Linked DNA regions of Homo sapiens: region 1 is linked to region 2. Evidence: promoter capture Hi-C in human tissues and cell types (Jung and others, 2019). All regions are on one chromosome and are shown on one strand. The core of a region is centred on a gene start or on the middle of the fragment in contact, and the rest is flanking DNA. Distances in the headings are between cores, read along the strand shown.

What was found. Contacts are between HindIII fragments. The study calls those that stand out against the background at their distance.
Region 1: a fragment that was not itself captured here is called in contact with the fragment with the promoter of ZNF552 in region 2 in 1 of the 25 tissues and cell types used here (dorsolateral prefrontal cortex).

The regions. Positions count from the first base shown.
Region 1 is chr19:58,260,092-58,263,338 of GRCh38, forward strand. ZNF544 (zinc finger protein 544) reads left to right here. Exons shown (of 7, transcript NM_014480.4): 7 at 760-3,247. The coding sequence ends at 2,663. ZNF8-DT (ZNF8 divergent transcript) reads right to left here. Exons shown (of 3, transcript NR_187495.1): 2 at 3,245-3,247. Among named protein-coding and RNA genes, the nearest start is that of ZNF8-DT, 17 kb to the right of the region's middle. The HindIII fragment of the contact is 3,084 bases long and covers 1-2,848 here.
Region 2 is chr19:57,813,168-57,816,279 of GRCh38, forward strand. ZNF552 (zinc finger protein 552) reads right to left here and starts at 1,746. Exons shown (of 3, transcript NM_024762.3): 1 at 1,544-1,746; 2 at 127-253. The coding sequence starts at 1,576. RefSeq lists an enhancer at 2,021-2,070. The HindIII fragment of the contact is 37,727 bases long and covers 1-3,112 here.

The sequences.
Region 1 (3,247 bases), core at 57-2,556, 450 kb after region 2:
CTGTAGAAAACTAAGTAAATAATAATAATAAAATTCTAATCACATCTGGACAGTTCCTTTTTCCCAAAAGTTCACATTCACAGAGTCCAGGGGCTTAGAACATACATACTTTTTGCAATGGTTAATGGCTTTATATCCTGCAGACCCAGTTCATTCTGTGGATTTCTCTTTTTATCTTCACCTCCCTGCTTATTCTCTTTTTTGAGACAGGGTCTCACTCTCTCACCCAGACTGGAATGCAGTGGCCCGATCTTGGTTCACTGCAACCTCCACCTCCCAGGCTCAAGCGATTCTCCTGCCTCGGCCTCCCGAGGAGCTTAGACTACAGGCGCCCACCACCACACCTGGCTAATTTTTTTTTTATTTTTATTAGAGATGAGGTTTTACCATGTTGACCAAGCTGGTCTCTAACTCCTGACCTCAGGTGATCCACCTGCCTCAGCCTCCCAAAGTTCTGGGATTACAGGTGTGAGCCACTGCACCTGGCCCCTCCCTGCTTATTCTTATTCTTCTGCCCTCTATTTGGGGACTAGTGTTACTTAGTCACTTCTTTATTATGTTTGCTTGTATTTTGCACTTTACCACTGATACCATGTTTGCTGATCCATCCCTCCCTTTCACAGCCTGCATACGGATTACAGTTTGTAGTTTGGAAACAAACCAGAGACACTTCCATTAAACAGTTGTCTCCTTCATCTCCCCCTCCCCCTCCCCCTCTGATGCTTCTCCAGTAACTTAGGCATTTTGGATTTCTTTCAGACTGGAAAGCTACCCTTGAGGAGAATAGGTTGAATTCTGAAAAAGATCGAGCTAGGGAAGAACTATCCCACCACGTGGAAGTGTACAGGAGTGGACCGGAGGAGCCACCCTCTTTGGTATTAGGAAAAGTGCAAGATCAGAGCAACCAGTTAAGGGAACACCAGGAGAACTCCTTGAGGTTCATGGTACTCACCTCAGAGAGACTGTTTGCTCAAAGGGAACATTGTGAGCTTGAACTTGGGGGAGGTTATTCTCTACCTTCTACTTTAAGCCTTCTACCTACAACATTACCTACAAGTACAGGTTTCCCTAAGCCCAACTCACAAGTTAAAGAGTTGAAACAAAATTCAGCTTTCATTAATCATGAGAAAAATGGAGCAGATGGGAAGCACTGTGAGAGTCATCAGTGTGCTAGAGCTTTCTGTCAGAGTATTTACTTGAGTAAACTTGGAAACGTTGAAACAGGAAAGAAAAACCCTTATGAATATATTGTCAGTGGTGACTCTCTCAACTATGGTTCCTCCCTTTGTTTTCATGGTAGAACTTTTTCAGTGAAGAAAAGTGATGACTGTAAGGATTATGGAAACCTCTTCAGTCACAGTGTGTCTCTGAATGAACAGAAGCCAGTGCATTTTGGGAAAAGTCAGTATGAGTGTGATGAGTGCAGGGAAACCTGTTCTGAGAGTCTGTGCCTTGTACAAACAGAAAGAAGTGGCCCTGGAGAGACCCCCTTCAGATGTGAGGAACGCTGTGCTGCCTTCCCCATGGCCTCATCTTTTTCTGACTGTAACATCATTCAGACTACAGAGAAGCCATCTGTGTGTAATCAGTGTGGAAAATCTTTCAGCTGTTGTAAGCTCATACACCAGAGAACACACACTGGAGAAAAGCCCTTCGAATGTACTCAGTGTGGGAAATCTTTTAGCCAGAGCTATGACCTTGTCATACATCAGAGGACACACACTGGAGAGAAGCCCTATGAGTGTGACCTGTGTGGGAAATCCTTCACCCAGAGATCCAAACTTATTACACATCAGCGAATTCACACTGGAGAAAAACCGTATCAGTGTATTGAATGCAGAAAATCCTTCAGGTGGAACTCTAACCTCATTGTACATCAGAGAATTCATACTGGAGAGAAACCGTATGAGTGCACTCACTGTGGAAAGTCCTTCAGCCAAAGCTATGAGTTAGTTACACATAAAAGAACGCACACTGGAGAAAAACCCTTCAAATGTACTCAGTGTGGGAAATCTTTCAGCCAGAAGTATGACCTTGTTGTACATCAGAGGACACACACTGGAGAGAAGCCCTATGAGTGCAACCTGTGTGGGAAATCCTTCTCCCAGAGTTCCAAACTTATTACGCATCAGCGAATTCACACTGGAGAAAAACCGTATCAGTGTATTGAATGTGGGAAATCCTTCAGATGGAACTCTAACCTCGTCATACATCAGAGAATTCATACTGGAGAGAAACCGTACGATTGCACTCACTGTGGAAAGTCCTTCAGCCAAAGCTATCAGTTAGTTGCACATAAAAGAACTCACACTGGAGAAAAGCCCTATGAATGTAACGAGTGTGGAAAAGCCTTCAATCGAAGCACTCAGCTCATCAGGCATCTGCAAATTCACACTGGGGAGAAGCCGTACAAATGCAATCAGTGCAATAAAGCCTTTGCAAGGAGCTCCTACCTTGTGATGCATCAGAGAACTCACACTGGTGAGAAACCTTTTGAGTGTAGTCAGTGTGGGAAAGCCTTTTCAGGGAGCTCTAACCTTCTTTCCCATCACAGAATTCATTCTGGAGAGAAACCCTATGAATGTAGTGACTGTGGGAAATCCTTCCGGCAGCAATCTCAACTTGTAGTGCATCGGCGGACACATACTGGAGAGAAACCTTAGGAGTGCAGTCATTGTGGGAAAGCTTTCATCCAGAGGTCTCCCCTCATCATGCACCAGAGGACGCATGTCGGTGGGAAGAGCTATCAGTGTGACGTGTATTAAGCCAGCGGTTGTGACTCATTGAACATCAGAGGACATATCCTGGAGAAAAGCCCTACGAATGCATTGATTGTGGGAAAGCCTTCAATGATCGCTCAACCCTTAGTAAACACGAGAGGACACACACTGGAGGCAAACCCTATGAATGTGACCATTGCGAGAAAGCCTTTAGCCAACGGTGTCAACTTACTAGGCAGCAGAGAATTCATACTGGAGAGAAGCCCTGTGAATGTTAACAAATGTGGAAAAGCTTCCAGTTATGATACTTTCCTTATTCAACATGAGAAAGCTCATGGGCAAGAAACTCTATGAATAACCAAGATGGAGCCGGGTGCAGTTGCCAACACTTGTAATCCCAGCAGTTTGCGAGGCCGAGGCAGGTGGATCACTTGAGCCCAGGAGTTTGAAACCAGCCTGGGTAACATGGCAAAATCCTGTCTTTACAAAAAATACAAAAATTAGCCTAGCATGGTGGCGCATACCTG
Region 2 (3,112 bases), core at 496-2,995:
TACCAACCAAGAACTGAAGTAGGAAGCTGTGTCCATGCTCCTGACATGAGAAAGTCTTGCCAATAGAAAAAGAGGGGGAAAGACAGAGACTAGCTCAGGTCACAGGGGTGAGTGTGGGCAACTTACCCAGGGAGGACATAAGTGCCAGGTTCTCCAGCGTCACATCACGGTACAGGCATCTCTGAGCCTCACTAAGGAGATTCCATTCCTCCTGGGTAAATTTCACAGCCACGTCTTCAAAAGTCACTGTGCCCTGTTATGATGTTGACAGATGAAACCACAAACCACCCCTATGCTGAGGTATCACAATCCATCTCTCCCACACATCTACTCTCGCACATCCTCCTCTCAAGGTCCTCAAACATAGGAGAAACTAGGCCCACTGGTCATGGGGTACAGCCACCAACAACAATAGTTAGTTGAACAAATAGGTATCTGTGCGGTGGCTGTGATATAAGAGTCCACCCCCTCCTGACAGGCACTTCCCCTAGTATGGCCGAGGTCATGGAAAGCCCAATGTGGCACCTTCAGCACAGCAGAGATACCCTCTCTGAACGCACCTCATTCTTTTTTTTTTTTTTTTTTTTTTTTTTTTGATACGGAGTCTCGCTCTGTCACCCAGGGTGGAGTGCAATGGCGCGATCTCGGCTCACGCAACCTCCGCCTCCCGGGTTCAAGCGAGTCTGCTGCCTCAGTTTCCCAAGTAGCTGGGATTACAGGCATGCGCCACCACGCCTGGCTAATTTTGTATTTTTAGTAGAGACAGGGTTTCTCCATGGTTGGTCAGGCTGGTCTCTACCTCCGGACCAACCCGCCTAGGCCTCCCAAAGTGCTGGGATTACAGGAGTGAGCCACTGCACCCGGCCCCACCCTCCACTTTCTTGTATGCGTTCCTTAAATGCTTCTACAGCCATAAAGGCCTGAGGGAAGAGGCTGACTTTACAGGACTGTGTCCCTGATAGGATCTGGTAAGCTCAGGCCTCCCTGAACGCTTTTGTGTCCACGGAGCCAGGTGACCTTGGACTATTGTCTAACCTGCGTGTCTCAGCACAAAGTGTCATCTCTACCACCTATATGATCTACAAGGATTCAATCTCAAAGGGCCCCAACGTCATCCCCTCTCTACTCTGTTATTTATTTGGCCTTTAGGAAACTTTAAAAGCCTGGACTTTGATCCAGTCCCTTCTTTCTTGGAAATTCTCCTATTTCTAGTGTCCTCGCAATGATTTCACAGCCCCCAGCCTCCTTGCTTTTCCAGGAGGAGTTCCGCCTCACAGGTTGTTCCCTACAGGCGCCTGTGGACCCCAGGTTCCATCCTCCCGGATCCGTCCATCTCCAGGCCATTGCCCGCGCCCCTCCCTGTACCTGTCGCTCTCCCCACCGCATCCCACGGGTGTCTGAAACAGGGATCCCTCCCGAGAGCGCCTCAGTGTCCCGACGCCGGGTCCGGGTTGCAGAGCCGTAAACAGGTGCCGCTCCCTCGCTGCTTTAGGACTTGTGTGACTAGGAGGTGACCGGAGAGCACGGAAGGCGCCACAATTACCTGAACGGGGAACCTTAGCGCGGCCGCCGCCATGGGACCACGTGGGGTAAGCTGGGTTGAGAGCAGCGGGCGCCGTTAAAGAGCTGCAGAGTCACGTCTGTGCAAAGAGAAGAACGACTCTCGACCTCCTGGATCCAGTCACCACCACGGTCCCAACACAGCGCTCCAAGGACTCCCTAACGCCAATGGAAATGGTCGCTACTAAAGGGCGCCGGGAGTCCCGCCTCTACCTTACTTGCGCACACGGAAACGCCTTCAATGTGAACTCTCACTGGCTCTGCCGTGCTGTCATTTGACGCAGAGCTTTCTGGGTAATGTAGTTTCCCAGGTTCCAAGGCCGTAAAGAGAGAGATTCCCAGGGGCGCTTCGGAAGGAAAAGCCCAGCTCCACCTCCGGGGCCCTCAGGGAAGCCTCCTGACCCGCACGGTGGCGCGCGCCTGTAATCCCAAATTTTGAGAGGCTGAGGTGTCAGGACTGCTTGAGCCCAGGTGGTCCAGGCTGCACTGAGCTATGACTGCACCACTGCACTCCAGCCTGGGCGACAGAACCTGTCTCAAAAGAAAAAGAAATGTTAATTAAGCGTTTGTGCTGTTAAGGGAGGAGACCACCTCTCATATTGTTTTATGCCCAATTTCTGCCTCCAAAGAAACAAGTAAAAACTAAAAGGCAGAAATGAAATCCACAGGCAGACAGCCAGGTGCCAACCCTGGGCCTGGTTAAAGATCGACCCCTGACCAAACCGGTTATGTTATCTATGGATTCCAGACATTGTATGGAAAAGCATTGTGAAAATCCCTGTCCTGTTCTGTTCCGTTCTGATTACCACTGCATGCAGCCCCCAGTCGTGTACCCCCTGCTTGCTCAATCGATCACAAACCTCTCATGTGGACCCCCTTAGAGTTGTAAGCCCTTAAAAGGGACAGGAATTCCTCACTTGGGGAGCTTGGTAGTTGGAGATGTGAGTCTTGCCAAAGCTCCAGGCTGAATACAGCCCTGCGGCTTGTCCTGCTACATTTCTTGGTTCCCTGACTGGGAAGCCAGGTGATTAACAGATAGTCGAGGCAGCCCCTTAGGCAGCTTAGGCCTGCCCTGTGGAGCATCCCTACAGGGGACTCTGGCCAGCTTGAGGGACGCAGAACCTGAGAGCACTCCCGGGTAGGCAATTGCCCCAGTGGAACACCTCGCCAGAGTGGCGTGTGGCAGGCCCCCACAGAGGATCAATGCAGCGGCTGAACACTGGGAAGGAACAGGCACTTGGAGTCCGGACATCTGAAACTTGGTAAGACTAGTCTTTGGAACTTGCCCACTCCATTTGAGTGGAAGGGTGGCCTGATCACCCACGGCATGCCTGTACCGGCACTTTGGTTTTTGTTTTTGACTTGATTTGGATTGCTTGATACTTTCGTTTTGGTTTTGACCTGGCTTGGATTTCTGGATACTCTGATTTGGATTTTGATTCTGGTTTGGTGTAAACGGTAAAAGTGTATGTGTGCCCTTTTTACCTGTTCTTTGTTTTGTGGTGTGCGTGTGGTGTGAGCGTGGTGTTTTGTCTCAAAGAAGCATGGGTCA